Regions from separate parts of the Homo sapiens genome. Here region 2 is linked to region 1. The links are contacts of gene promoters, found by promoter capture Hi-C in blood cells and fetal thymus (Javierre and others, 2016). All regions are on one chromosome and are shown on one strand. The core of a region is centred on a gene start or on the middle of the fragment in contact, and the rest is flanking DNA. Distances in the headings are between cores, read along the strand shown.

The links. Contacts are between HindIII fragments. The CHiCAGO score rates a contact against its expected background, and 5 or more counts as called.
Region 2: a contact is called between a fragment that was not itself captured here and the fragment with the promoter of ABHD2 in region 1, in 1 of 17 cell types (M0 macrophages). The highest score is 5.9, in M0 macrophages.

Annotation. Positions count from the first base shown.
Region 1 is chr15:89,084,874-89,092,681 of GRCh38, reverse strand. ABHD2 (abhydrolase domain containing 2, acylglycerol lipase) reads right to left here and starts at 4,226. Exons shown (of 11, transcript NM_152924.5): 1 at 4,119-4,226. LOC124903573 reads left to right here. Exons shown (of 7, transcript XM_047433432.1): 3 at 441-506; 4 at 1,399-1,547; 5 at 3,750-3,847; 6 at 3,996-4,614; 7 at 4,741-5,121. The coding sequence ends at 4,955. RefSeq lists enhancers at 3,567-4,086, 4,028-4,207, 4,818-5,463. The HindIII fragment of the contact is 11,698 bases long and covers 2,578-7,808 here.
Region 2 is chr15:85,701,174-85,708,981 of GRCh38, reverse strand. AKAP13 (A-kinase anchoring protein 13) reads right to left here. Exons shown (of 37, transcript NM_007200.5): 18 at 896-963. Among named protein-coding and RNA genes, the nearest start is that of LINC02883, 54 kb to the left of the region's middle. RefSeq lists enhancers at 223-352, 1,325-1,634 and a silencer at 4,001-4,130. The HindIII fragment of the contact is 4,594 bases long and covers 1,497-6,090 here.

The sequences.
Region 1 (7,808 bases), core at 2,977-5,476:
TTACAGATGTATAAAATCCCTTGGAAGTTCAGGGACCACTTCTGGAGGATGAAGAAATCGCTAATACTGGTTGCCTCTGAGGATCAGGGGTCAGGGGTACACACAGATGTATTTACTAGTTAACCTTTTGTGCCTTTAAAAAATTTTCTTTCATCATGTGAATGTATTGCCTATTTTTAAAAACTAAAATTTGAATTAAAAAATTTTAAAATTTCTATTAAAAACAATTTTAAAACAAAATAGTTTTTAAGCAACAAACCAAACTAATTTGTTAATCTTGTCAACTGTGTTCCTGGCACACACCAGATGCTTAATTTGTTGAACTTAATGAACCTCCACTTAAAGACAACAAAAGAAAATCAGAAACCAGGCAAATCCAAGGGTACCAACGTTCCACTTCTCTAAAAAGCTCTTCACCTGTCTGCTATTTATTGTGAAAGATCAGACAATGAGTCGGTGTGTAACAAGCCCCTCACCCAAATGGCCCCAGTCCACAAGCTTCAGGGGTAATGGTGGAGCTTATCGTCTGTCCACACCAACCATTTTACAAACAGAAAACATTCAATCCAAAAATATGATGCCCTGGACAAGACAACAAAAATCAATCTGCAGATATGAAAATCCTGAAAGGAGATAATGTAGCATCTGTATGGTATCAACAAAGAAACAGCAGCACAGGGCTTAAAAATGTCCTACTCATGCACTGGCCAAAAAGGCTGAACCATGAAAAGCTGCTATAAAATCCTGACACCAGACACATTTAAGAGGCACCCTGAACTTCTCATTGCTCTGTTCCTGGGGATAGCTTAGCCCAAGATGAAACAGAAAGGCTAAAGCAACTCATGCCCCACATCATCTATACTCTGAAACTGGTCATGGAGTACTCAAAACTCACAATGCAATAAAAATGGGAATACTGTAAGCTGTAGGTCATGGTAGAAATTCTGCCACACAAAATTCAATTATATTGGAAATGTCTCTCTCCTGGGGCTTTTAAAAGAGCCAGATTTTAGGCAAAAAATAAGACAGACTCTACCCCTGTCTCCCATAAGACCAAAGAAATTATTTCCTGCTCGGGGCAGGAGCTCTGAACAAGGGCAGTGAGAACCACTACAGAGGTTATGGGTCCTGCCGGAGATTACCAGGAAAAGGCGTAAATGCTTAAAGCAACGAGTAACAGCAAATGAGAAGCTCATCCACCAAAATACTGAGAAAAGAGAGTGAGAAAGAGAGAAAGGGGCCCATATTAATACACAAGCAAAGAAATGAAAACTATTATTCTAAAATGGCTGATCTCTAGAACAGCTTAAACAAAAACCGAAATTCAGAATCAACTCAAGAAAAATAAAGCATGAGAAGGTGCCATTTAATGAAGTGATAATCTTTGGTTCAATCTAGAAAACAAGTAAAAACAGAAGAGAAAATCAAAGGTGACTGGATTCCTGCAAAAAATGAAAGTGGCAGGCATCTTTTCATCAAAAGGGAATTGGCTGGCACACTGAGAGTGCCTATTTGTCAGACCCACGCAGGCGATAAAGGAAATGAAGGTGAGAGTAAAAAGGGAAAAAAGTGAACGACCCTGACTAAAATGAGAGGAAAAAGACCATTCCCTTGTACTTGCCATCTGGTTTATTTCAAGCTTTGGAAAAGAACAGGAAAAACACAGATAAACCAGTGAACCAGCTAGATTGCCAGCACGGATCAGTCACACACTTTTGCTTCTGCCAGGCCAGGCAGGCGCTGCTGGTGCTCCCCCTATTCGAATGACTAAGTAACTTCCTTAAATGCAGTTGACACATGATCCCTGAACTTCCGAAAAGCACTTAATACAGTGGCTCATAAAATCTTAATCTAAAAATGTTCATCCATTTAGAATCAAGCTGCATCACACTCATCGCTTGGGAGGAGGGCTGAAGAGAGGGAATACATATTTGGAAGGACACCATGGACACGGGTATCATCCAGGACTTTACCATTTCGAGGGATTCCCACCCCTCACTGCCTGCTTTTAACGATAATTTTAAAGGGTTCAGAGCCTAAGAAGAATGTAACTGCAAGGGGGAACTAACATAGAAACTAAATTACCTGAATCACAAAAATAAGTAAGGTATAAAATGCAACGTGACTTGGAAACCCCTTGCAGCTGTCTGTGTTAAAATGAAATCTGGAATATGTTAAATGAATTTGGGGGTGGGGGGAAGGGGACTGGGGGAAAAATTAGCTCTTGATAGAGTATTGGGTGGTGGATATGAAGAAAAATGTACAAAAAGGCAACAGAATATCATATCTAGCAAATCTATTGTGCTTACCCTGTGCCAGGTACTGTTCTAAATGCTTCAGATGTAGTAACTCCATGCACTTCTCAAAACAATCTTCTAACATAAGTATCATTATTATTTCTGTTTTAGAGGTGAGGAAACAGAGGCACAGAGAAGTTAAGTAGCTTGCCCAAGGTTGTACAGCCAGTAAGAGGCAGGGCTGGGATTCAAATCCAGGCACTCAGGCACCAAAATCTGTCCTCCTAACCTCTCTGGACTCCCCTAGAACTTAAAACACTGAGAATGGGCAAACTAAGCTTGGAGTGAAATAAGTCATGCACTGGCTAGATCTAAATACAGTCAAGAGATCAACCCTTAGTCATGGGCCTGTGATGACCAACCAGCCCTGTGACCACCCCAGGCCTCAGTTTCCTCACCTGTGCATTGAGGAGACTGAATGAGAGTCCACCTAATTAGACTTAGATAGAGATGAGCTCTATCTAAGGTGCCTTCAGCTCTAAAATGTCACAGTCCGTGCTGACTACCAGCTGTATATGGACTGCTTTCTGACTAGATGTTCAAAGATTAATTCATCCTAAAACACACAGCAAGGTGTGTTAAGATTCTTTCTCTGCCTCCTGACCTTTAGATTATTATGTTCTCTCTATTCCGGCAAATGACAGAGGGTAGTGAAGGATTTCTCTTTTGGACTCTGCTTAATGTGGCTGTAAGGAAACGGCCTTCGAAAAGCTCTGGGCACAGATCTTGTTGACTCTGCCAAACCTGCAGTCTCTCCAGGTCCCTCTGTGGAGCCTGTTCTTGGAACATGCCTTTGGATTTGGTTACTGGAATGCAGGTGAAACTGACAAACTGGAGGTCCAGCAACCAAAAAAGAGAGATTGGGAAGATTAAGAGAGCGGTCCATGGTAGTTCAAATACAAGGAGTTTCACAGTGGCTAAATAAACCTCTATCTTTTTGTATAATCCAGTCTCTTTGCTAACACCCACTCTTGAGAGCTGAAACCTCAAAATTCATTATGGGTGAATTCAACAGCCACTTGGAACCTAATGGACCCCCAGAAGTACTCTTCTCAAGCTAGGCATCAAAGGCCACTTAGAGTGCATTTGTGGGTAGAGAAGGCCCTTACAGATGGGTCATGCAGTCCTCCCTTGGGAGTCCTAAGCATCCGACACAGGTGGCTGTCATCAGGCCACTGCTTGGACATCGCCAAGGTCGAGGCGCTAGCTGCCCGGCCTGGCAGGCAGCCTCCTGCGCTGCTGGACAGCTCTAGCTGTGGGAAAAGCTCACGAAGGGCCTAGAACAGTGCCGGTCGCGGGGCCGAACTCGGTAAATGTGCTTCCAAGTGGGTCAAAAGCTGCCTTTCTAGAACTTAAACCCACTGGTCCTGCGTGAGCCCCTGGAGCCCCGAAACACAGAGGCCTCTCGGGTATCTCGGGCTGTAATCAGGCCCCTCGGCCCTCTCCTTCCAGGTGCGGATCCCGGACCTTCTTCGCCGAGCCTGAACCGGCAGACCCCTCCCCAGGCCCCTGAAGACCCAGGAGTGAGCACCAATGGGGGAAAGGCCGCGGTCGGGGTTGTCCCCAACCTCGGTTCCTCGGGCAGAAGGGGACAAAGGGCCTCAGGAAGGCGTATCCCCCGCCGCGATCTGGGCTGTCCCCACCACTGGGCAAGCCAGCCCCTGGGACCCCCACGGCGCCAGATGACAGGCCCCCCAGGATCCCCTCAGGCTGCGGCGTGATGGGCCGAGCTACGCCGGGGACCTCGGGGCTCGGAGATTCGGTTCGACGGGTCCGGGGTGCGATCCCCGCTCCGCGGAGCTCGCTCGGCCGTGGCTTTACCTGCGTGTGATTGACTACAGGTGCTCAGCTCGCCCCCAGTCTGGTTCCTGCAGCTCCCCGGCTGCCAGCGGCGCTCATGGATATACAGCCGGAACCCCTGGCCAGTGCAGCTCCCGCCGCTACCGGCCCCGCCCAAGTAACTGCCGCCACGCCCCTGACGACCGCTTCTGCCACGCCCCTAACCACGGAAACCGCTTGTTCATTGGGCAGTTCAGCCGCTTCTCCACTTGCCCCGCGCGCTCATTGCGTCTAGGAGGGGATCCATTGATCAGCGAAGCTGTTCCTCAGAGTGGAGGCGGGATTCTTAGGGGAGAGCTCCTCAGCAATTGGTTACATTTGACGGCTTTAGTCCAGGGACCCAGACGCTACTGGATAAGGCCAGCCCGGAGTGGGCGGGGAAAGGGGAGGAGGGCTAGAAGGTGGGTCGTGTTTGATGTCGATGGGGGCGGGGTGAAGAGACGGGTAATTGTGACCGCAAACTGCTTTAGAGGGCTGGGTAAGGTCAGCTGTCGACTGGGCTCAGAGGAATGAGGTCGGCTGGTAGCTCAGCTGCTGGTAGCTCAGCTGGGGCTCTTATGGGTCCAGGCCGACTGACTGACTCACGTGTACTCAAATTTCGCAGGGGTGAAATTTGAGGTCATATCCCGGGAGAGAGGAAGAAGGGTCGTGAGTCACCGAACCCGAAGGAGAGGAAAAGATGTGGAGGCAGCGGTCTATGGCCTCTTCCAGCTCCGGACGGGGGATGGGGACGCTCTGGGCAATACGGGCCTCAGTTATTGTCCCACTGTCCTTTCAACCCTTAACCAACCCAGTTGGAGGCCGCCTGGAAGAATGTAGCCTTGGAACTAGGGCCTGGAATTGGGGCTCCTACCGGTTGTGTGGGCTTGGGCAAGTCACTTAACCTTCCCGCATGCTCCCTTCACTTGGCAACTGAGGGTAACAATAGTAGTTGATGAGAAGATTAAATAAACTCTGATAAATGCCAACAGTGGCTGGCACTCAACAGGCATTCAATCAAGGCTGATTCTTCCCCCATCACCCACTCACCTCATCCGGCTGGGAAACTAGGCCCATTTCTAAAATTCTATGAGCCTGAAACTGCTTTTGCAATGGCATGTCGTGTACCAAGAATAGAACACTTGAGCGACTTGAAATGCAACCCCTGTAGGGCAGACAAGGCCACCCTACCAAGGCCCCATAGGGCTCGGAGAGAGGGAGCAGGGGATGAAATGAGAGGAGCGATTTAGTCAGAGAAGGGAAGTGGCATTTGTTACCATGTAAATTTTTCCCAACATATTTCAGGTTGTGACAAGGAACAGTGGGCTGGCTCAAGTTTTATGGAGCGTAACCAAATAACATCCTTTGAAGGCTGATCAGCACCGGACCAGAAATCATTGCATGAGCTCTATCTGTCAGAGACCCCTGAAACCCATTCCCCATTCTGAAGGTGTAGACATCACAGAGTGTGGACAGAAATAGCTTCTCAGGCCTGAATGTAGCCCCAGACCCTTTGTGTCTGTCTTTGAAAGAACTCACAGCCATGGTACATCAGAGTGAAGGAGAAGAAAGAATCCTTTGCCATTGCTCTATTTTTCATTCAGTTGTCATGTTACCTTGAAAAAAAAAGGTTTCATCTCAGTGTTTATATATTCCTCTGTATTCTCTTTCATCTTGGAAAAGAAAAACCCAGGCTTCAGTAGCAAAGTCTCTTAGTGATGAACCCCATCGTCCTGACTCTGAGTTAAAACAGTTTGGACTTCCAAAAAAGAGCTTTAGATTATCACTAGATAAGTATATAAGGTAATGCATATGTTAACTAGCTTGGTGTAGCTATCCCACAATGTATACATGTATCAAAACATGGACCGGTACAGTGGCTCACGCCTGTAATCCAACATTTTGGGAAGCTGAGGCGGAGCCCAGGAGTCTGAGACCAACCTGGGCAACATAGTGAGACCCCGTCTCTACAAAAAATTTAAAATTTAGCCTGATGTGGTGGTGCATGCCTGTAGTCCCAGCTAGTGGGGAGGCTGAGGCAGGAGGGTTGTTTGAGCCCAGGAAGTTGAGGCTGCAGTGAGCTGTGATCGCACCACTGCACTCCAGCCTGGGCCACAGAGTGAGACCTTGTTTGACAAATAAACATAATAACATGATAAACATAAATAAGTAAAGCATGTTGTACATCATAAATATATACAAATTTTGTCAATTAAAAATTAATAATAATTTAAAAAATAGGCTGGGCACAGTGGCTCAAGCCTGTAATCCCAGCACTTTGGGAGGCCAAGGCAGGAGGATCACCTGAGGTCAGCAGTTCCAGACCAGCCTGGCCATCATGGTGAAACCCCATCTCTACTAAAAATACAAAATTAGCTGGGCATGGTGGCACACACCTGTAATCCCAGCTACTCAGGAGGCTGAGGCAGGATAATCGTTTGAACCCAGGAAGCAGAGGCTGCAGTGAGATTGCACCACTGCATTCCAGCTTGGATGACAGAGTGAGACTCTGTCTCAGAAAAAAAAAAACAAAAAAGATTTGTCACTAGTTTTGGAGGGGTGTGTACACATATCTATGTACACATTTGGTTCTGATCCACAGTTTTCTGGTTCTTGTCTTTAAACAGTGCTGCTTGGTAGCCATACACATGGCTGCATGCATGTTACGGAAATAGGCCCAGCCCAATACAGGTTTGCTTCTGCCTGTGTTTGCTAAGGGAAAGTGAGATGTCTTGTTAGGCCCTGAAAAGCATGAAGTGGCTCCTGAGATCCAGGATGATTTCTCCAACTTGATTCAGAGCCACAAAAAGCAGCTGTTAGGAGTAGATTGCAGATGGGCTCGCCATTGTGTAAATGGCTTTTTTCTCCCATCTCAGGAACATAGGTTCAGCCACCAGTTCCAGAAAAGGACATCTTTCCAGTTCAGGAATTCTAAAACACAATTATGTCACAGAGGCTCAAAAAGAGGCACAGACTGAGCTCAGGAAGAGGAGGAAGAGTAAAAGGATCCGGGCATCTTCTCTGCAGCTCTGGCAGGCTTAAAGAATGATCCATTATCATTTCCCAGCACACAGAACTGTTTCCTTAATTGTCTCTGGTTTCTGTTTCCTCCCTTCTGCTTGCAGTCTTGCCATATTCTGTTTAATCATATTATTTCATTCTATAAATCATTTCTGAGGGAGGCCATTTAGGAGACAAAATGGACTTATTTTTGCCTTCAAGTTTAGTGGCCCGTTGGGATTGAGGATTTGGTGAGCCTTGGCCTGAGATAAGCAGGTGTTGGGATGTGGCTGTAAAGTGAATTTTCAAAACCGTGACAGTACCTTGTAATAAAAAAGAACAAGGGAGAGGGTATGCCCCAGTCACCTTCTGGGATGGCCAAAGCTGCAGGACTTCATTAAAGCAGAACTGCTTCTAACTCAACTGGGGCCTCTGCAGGATTTACTAACCTGAGAAAGTCAAGGTACTCTGGGAGACAGCAGGGAGCAGTGGTTGGAGCAGATAATATGTTCTATTTATTCTTTTAAGGAAAATCAGCAATTCACTCAGTTTGTCATTTTTGTTATTCTGTGTCCTCGGGGGATGGTTCAGAGAAAGGGGATTTGGAAGCTCTACTGCTGGGGATTGGATCCTGATTCCATCCTTCCTAGCCTTGTGACCTTGGGCGAGTACAGCACATCTCTGTGCCCTACT
Region 2 (7,808 bases), core at 2,544-5,043, 3.4 Mb after region 1:
GACTATCAGCATCATCTGGGAACTTACTAGAAATGCAAATTCCTGGACTCTCCCCCAGAATCTGAGACTCTGGGAGTGGGGCTCAGTAAGTTGTCTTTCAATAAGCCCTCGAGTTGATTCTGATGCACATTCCAGGTTGAGGTCATGGCACTAGATAACTGTGTTTGGTGACTGACGAAGCACACAGCTCATTAATCATCTGTGTCGACGAAGTTGGAAAGCACTCCTTTGACAAGGAATGAAGAGACACTTACAGGCGACTAGAACATTGAAAACCTCACAGGCTACCTAAAAGGTATGGCCCTTAACCCACACTTTTTTTTAAGGGCCACTGGGAAAGCATGATTACATAGCATACATGCTCAGGGCAGATACCACCATAAAACAGGCACTTTCTATTCTTACGTCATGTGATCAGAGCCACCTATATTACATACCTGAGGAGAAAAGTGCTACCAGACAGGCTGGGGCTAACCATAACACCCTCCCCACCCCCACCAGCAGGTCAATGCCCCTGACCTCCACCTGCTGCCCTGATAGTCCTGAAGGAGGAAGACAGGTGTATGAACAGCAGGGTAGGCCTGCAGACGTAGTTAAGAAGAAAACCACTTTAAGAGCAATACGGAAATATTAAAATCACGAAGAAATGTATATTGAACGTGAAGAAGTTCTGAAAGCGTTTTCTTTTCTGAAAGTCTAATTCTCCAGTGTTACTCAAGAAGAAGATTGATCGCTTAAGAGAAAAAATATTTTTTAGTTATAATTTGTTCTCAAAGTTGGTACCAAATGATTAAAATAAACAAAATCCACCACAACCTCAACTCTCCCAACTCCCGAGGATTTTGCTGGTTTAAACCCTTTTATTTTAAGCCTTGTTTTAGCCAGAAAGTCTTACCTTCATTTTGACCTTTGCACAGGAGGCTAGACTTTCTCGGCAGCCTTTGTGGACAAAAGCACTGCAATCTGAAAAGAAAGCAAACCCAAGGTCACATGGACAAAGCAAACAGATCCCAGATTCTGAGTTTCCACTGCTGCCACAAGTGGCCTCTGAATTTCAAAGTGAAGTCACTCACATGTGAGAATGTGACTGAAATTACACACTGCAGTCCTCTTCTAGGAAGCAGGTCTGTGATGTTATTTGGAGGAGGAAAAACACGAGCAGATGTGATTTTTTTTTTTTCGGTGTTTGTGTCTTTATTTGGAGACCAGGAGACAGATTACAGCTTAATGAGAGGAACAACGACTCAAGTGATCTGATGGGAAGGGTGAGTTTCCTGGCCCTTAGGAAGCAACAGATGTGATTTCTAATCAACAAAAACTAGTAAGTCTGGAACTTTTCAGACAGGAAGCTGAGAGGCTACCAAAACTAAAAGTGAAAGTGTCTGCCATCAATGTGTAAGTCTAAATTACAAATAAATACATTAATAAAGCCCCTAACAGGGGTTACAAAATTTGTATGACTGTAATAAAGCACAGAATATAAAATCTGAAAAGCTTAACTACGCTGGGCTTTTTGCACCCCATTCTCTGAGACAGGAACCACACATGAAAGGTCACTGGAACCCCCACATGCACCTCTGGGAACTGTGACTTAAGAGAAAATGGAGACTTCTTGAAAGATAAAGCAGAAACCACAATTTGGCAAGGACAGCATTTTATCTCAATTCCTTTACTTTTCACTCCCTTGGCCTACAAGGGCCACTGACGTAAAAACCCAAGCCTCTGTGTCTCAGAAGGCTTACCATCAGCTCTCAGCGCTGCTATAAAGTCACATAACAGAACTGTTCCAGGAAGCCAGAGGTAAAGCAGAAACAAATGAAAGATCGGCCTGTGGGGACACTCGAGGAGACACTCTCATGGGAAGGGCTCACTCAGGAAATCAACCACAGATACCATTCACTAGGCAATGCCTCACAGACTGATTCAGGAAGCATCACAGGTCCTGTCTACATCAACTCACCAGTTAAGGGCCAACATCTCTTTTGGGCCAACATCTCTTTTAGCCCAGACACATGGATTTGTGGGGGACTGGAGTGATGATGGGGAGGGAAGGAAACCAGAAAGGAGACTGCTAGAATCCCAGACCTCAAAGGCCTATTCCATGCCTTTTGTAACACTTCCTTTAACACCCACTTGGTTCACAGGTCTCCTCCTTAATACCACTGGCACAGTGTATTGAGACTCTCTTAGGTTTTTCTCTATCCCCTCTCTGGGGCAGGGACCATTCACCCACTGCTGAATCTTCAAATTAAGACTCTCCAGCATAGTGCCTAGCTCATGCATCCTATTCAAATGCTCCTCTCTCGGCCCTACTATGCCTATTTAAACTAAAATTAGATGAATGCGCTGACACAGCCTTGATTACAGTATGTCAAACATCAATTTAGTAACACAAAAGGACAAACAGCTGTCAAACTAAATTTGACGTAGGTCCTGGCTCTGCATGTATGTATGTACTAGTATGACCCTAGTCCCTTCTTGACAGGCCTCCGTTTCCTCATCTATAAAATTAAAAAGGAGGAATCACATTTTCCCCCAGGTTCCCTCTGCTGTGATTCTATCAGATGGGTAAGTGAGTTTCAGGCTGCTGGACCCACAGCAAGAAGCATAACAAAGTGGTCGAGGCAAACGGCTTTATTTATTTTCTAGTAAGCCAAAACATGTTTCTGCCCATCCTCACGAGCACTATTCTTACTCAGGGTGTATGGTGCACCTCCCCTCCTCTGCCACAGAGATGCCCAGGACTTGCAGCTGGCATGCTCCTTTCTGGTTTCTTCCTCTCCCATTAGTTGATCCATCATATCCTTCCCATGCACAGACTTGAAAGCCCACCCCACTCAAACCCTTTCTCTTCACAAATCCCCACTCAGCTAAAGTCTTTCAAATACATCATCTTTAAGTCCATTTCTCTTTCCCTTCTACAGAAAAAGTATAAAAAGACTATGAAAAGGCAAAGTCAATGATTAGTAGATCTATGTTTTTCAGCGTGCTGAATCCTCAATATATAATGCTGAAGAGAATAAAGCAAATTACAAAAAGAGGTACTGTATGGTAGTATTTATGTAGGTTAAAAACAAAAACAAATTATATGTTGTTTATGTATGAAAATAAATTATAAAACACAGACTACGAATGCACTGAATTCATGACAGTCCTTGTCCTTGGGGAGGAAGGAAGATGCATGGGGCAGGGAAACAAAGGGGAATCTGAACTTAACCATAATGGTTTCTTAAAAAGTGAAACAATCTGAAGCCGTCTGACAGAATGTTACTATGTGTTCATTCTGAATCATGGACACATATGTGATAAATTACCTATGTATAATACTTTGTATTAACATTTTTCAAAATTAAAAAAAATTTTTAATTTTTAAAAAATCATCACACTCTAATGTCGTTCAAAGTTCCTTGGATTTGCTTATAAACATTTCCATATCCTTTTGCATAATCCATTTATCGCATCTTGTGATAACTTAAAGATAAGATTTTATTGTCTTATAATCCAGTTAAAAAAGTATATTTTTTTTCTTTTGTTTTATTGAAAATCTATAATATTTTAGGCACCTAAGGGCAACACAGGAGGTGGCAGATTTGCTGGAGAACCAGCTACTAATTCTGATCTGCAAAAGTGACCAAGAACACTATGGGCAGAATTTGTTTCCAAGTTCTGTTCTTTCTGTTCCTTTCTTCCCAACCAGTTCCAACACCCTACAGAGATTTAAGCAATGATGATTTTTAAGGGAGTGGCACTATCACGTAAAAAGGTTTCAGCAATATTCAAACTCTCAGGCCAGTGTTTGAGTGTCTGAGATGAACATAGAAGCAGAAAAAAATCATTTAAAATGTGCTTCTAGTAAAGAACTTTTCACATAAATTCACTTTTAATTAATTGAAACATGTCCCCAAACCCACAACCCAGCTGGAAGTTTAACACGCTCTATATTATGGTCATGAGTTTTCTCTTAGTGATAGTTTGCATGGACATCTCCTTAACATGCTGAAGTACCTACTTGAAAAACACTCAACTTGTTTCCAAGTTGTCCTGGACTCAATTCACAGTGACAGTTTTAGAGCTGTGCGTGGGTGATTTAGAAACTTCAGCCCCACTGACATCAGCCAAAGTCATGAGACTAAAATCTTACTCTCTGTTTGGGAAAACAGAAAATTACCAAGAACACAAGAATTGAAGACAAATCTAATACATTTTTAAGCTCTCTGCCACAAACCATACCATGTTGTTATGAAGATCAGAAAATAATTATCTGGCCTTTTATTTATTTATTTGATAGATTTCCTAATAGCAGTAGGCAATATGCTTTCATTTTTTAAAATTCTTCAAAAAGGTCTCAGCACAGTGGTTTATGGGAACAGAGCTGATCCCTAATCGGATTCCTCTGTACCTAAAACAAACAGTCCAGCCTTCAACTTCTTTCTTTGCTACAAGGAGGCATCAAACCAAAGAAAATGAAGTTAAACCCACATGACTGGAAACTATCATCTATCTATTGCTGTATCTTTTTTTTAACCCATGCCACCAACCACCACAGATCTTTGGCGAATGGTTATATACTATGTGTTTTTTATCTTTCGGAAGAAAAATAAAACAAACCATTAGCGAGGCTAACTTAAGAAAATCAACTTTATACAATGATAAGAGGAGTGGCCATGCCAAACTGAAATGAAATGACAGAATATCAAAGGACTGCCTACACAGAAACGAGCCACCTTTGGGAGCTGAGTCATATGCAGCCAAGGCTCTGACAAAAAAGGTCTTCCAGTACTTCAGTTCATTGATCATCACTTGGGAATAGGCTGAAGACTTCTGACTGTTCTGCCTACAGATGTGAGCAGCAAAATCTAACTGGGAAAAATGACCTGATTCTTCTCCAGGACACAAGTTGAGGAATTACCTTTAAGGATAGAAATGCACAACTTTCTCCTATCATTTCAACTCTAACCAAGAAAATGAAAATAAAACAAAAAACAGTTAAATATGAGCAAATTTAGAAATGCATGCTACAAAATTCTTTCTGCAACTTTAAACTTCTTGTTTAAAATCTTTAACAGAGACCCTGTCTCTCAAAAAAAAATTATTAAATATATGTGTGTGTATATATATATATATATATTTTTTTTTTTTGAGATGGAGTCTTGCTCTGTCACCCAAGCTGGAGTGCAGTGGTACGATCTTGGCTCACTGCAACCTCTGCCTCCTGGGTTCAGGTGATTCTGCTGTCTCAGCCTCCTGAGTAGCTGGGATTACCGGTCCATGCCACTACGCCTGACTAATTTTTTGTATTTTTAGTGGAGATGGTATTTCGCCATGTTGGCCAGGCTGGTCTCAAACTCCTAACCTCAGGTGATCCACCCGCCTCAGCCTTCCAAAGTGCTGGGATCACAGGCGTGAGCCACGGCACCTGGCCAATAAATAAAATCTTTGGGGGATTTGAGACATCGCCCTATCTGGACTAAGAGTGCTTATATGCAAAAGGCATGTGAGATGTTCTTGGTAGCTGGTGTAATAACCACAGTGCTGATGTACAGAACAAGAAGAAAGCCACAAAAAAGAGCCAAATCATCTCAGCTGAAGTAGCCCCAGCAGCAGTTTTCGTAACAACACTGGTAAACAAAAATGAAATAAAATGAAAGTATTCTGCTTAAAAAAGAATTGCCTTTATTGCTTAGGGTCTTTTTTTACCTTCCTTTTCCCTAAGTAATAAACTTCCTTCCTTTAATCAACTATATGTATTTTATTCTCTCATATAAGCAATGAACTATAAATGCCAGAAAACTGTCTAGAGGGCAACTTTTCTGATGAAATCAGAAGTAAAATCTAACCATCACACACATTCTAAATTCTTATGTTTCCTACTTAGATTGCAGCTGGTTTACTTGTTTATTTTTTATGTAAAAGAAACAACCTACCACAAAAGTACTGAAATGCTGCTAGCACAACAGAAAATAAATCAGCAATAATCTCAGTATCATTTTACATCTGTTTAAAGCAAGCAAAACAGAACCACTGGCAAGACCCCAAAACCTGAACATAACAAATTCCTTATTCTGAAAGACCCCACTAAGTCACTAAGCTTTTCAAAGAACAAATTATTTGTGGCAGCTGGAAAGAACAGCTGACTATTCAAGGACAGCTTTACATAATAGAGAAATAAGAGTTGAAAAGACATTCCTCTATTAACCCTGTTAAAGTCACCTAATCCTAAAGCAAGAGTAGCGTTTTGGCTGAGATAAAAAGTCCCAGTTTCTTGTATAAACCATCATAACATATCATCATGATGGACTATATGGCTGATCTTTCTAACCACAAGTCAAAGGTGACTATGCAGTGCTGAGGGTATGAAGCTCTATCCAGGGGTCAGCCAAACAGGGTTACACTTAACCACAATGGGAAGCCACTGTCTCCTAAGAGCACAAAGGTTTCCTAGGAGGTAAACGACTAACTGCATGGATGCTACATTTCCTACGACTCCTGGGAAGATCCTGGACATGAGACGCGATGGAGGGAAGTGACGAAAGATTCTGCGTCCCCAAATTACTCATATTTTCTACTTCCTGCCAAGATAACACATGGGACTTCCTACATACAAACATTCAGCTTCTTCAGGAAGCTGAAGATAATCAGCCCATTACTTTGGTTCCTTTGAGAAGATGACTACATACTATTTTGTTGCTTTCAATCCTTTTCACTCCTTTTGTGTGTGTGTGTGTGTGTGTGTGTGTGTGTGAGTCTTGCTCTGTCACCCAGGCTGAAGTGCAATGGCGCGATCTTTGGCTGACTGTAACCTCCGCCTCCCGGGTTCGAGCAGTTCTCCTGCCTCAGCCTCCCAAGTAGCTGGGGATTACAAGCGCCCACCATCATGCCCAGCTAATTTTTTGTATTTTTAGTAGAGACGGGGTTTCACCATGTTGGTCAGGCTGGTCTTGAACGCCTGATCTCGTGATCCACCTGCCTTGCCCTCCTAAAGTGCTGGGATTACAGGCGTGAGCCACCGTGCCTGGCCTACCCCCTTCTTTTTATAAGAGGCAGGCTGCAGACTGTCTTACATAAACCTTAATGCTATCACCAGATGTTGAGACTATTTCTACATTACTTCTGGAGTAGGGTGGTATGCAAATTAAAGAATGTATTTTTGAAACTTAGTGCATATTAGGGTAACAGTCAAGCCCAACTTAAACTATTCCTTTTTGCTGTCTGATACTTTTCAGTTTAAACCTCAAATATAGCCAGGCATGGTGGCTCACGCCTGTAATCCCAACACTTTGGGAGCCTGAGGAGGGTGGATCACCTGAGTCAGGAGTTCAAGACCAGCCTGGCCAATATGGTGAAACCCCAACTCTAATAAAAATACAAAAAAAAATTAGCCAGGTGTGGTGGCGTGTTCCTGTAGTCCCAGCTACTTGGGAGACTGAGGCAGAAGAATCGCTTGAACCTGGGAGGAGGAGGTTGCAGTGAGCCGAGATTGCGCCACTGTACTCCAGCCTAGGTGACAGAGTGAGACGCCGTCTCAAACAAACAAAAAACAAAAAAAACCCCTCAAATATGTTAACTCTTTTTCCTGGTTTTTGCTGAGCAGGTAGAACTAAGATAATCTCTGATATTTGATTAGATCAAGCCATTACCAAAAATCAAAGAACAACTAGCAAAGGTTATTATGACCCCTGTCCCCACCGACAGACTTCCCAAACAGAAAAGACTTTAGTCTAGTGATAACACACTGGACTTCATGAAATAACGTGCCTCCAGAAAAAGCAAATTCCTTGGGTGACTTCATATTAAAAAAAGTCCCATTC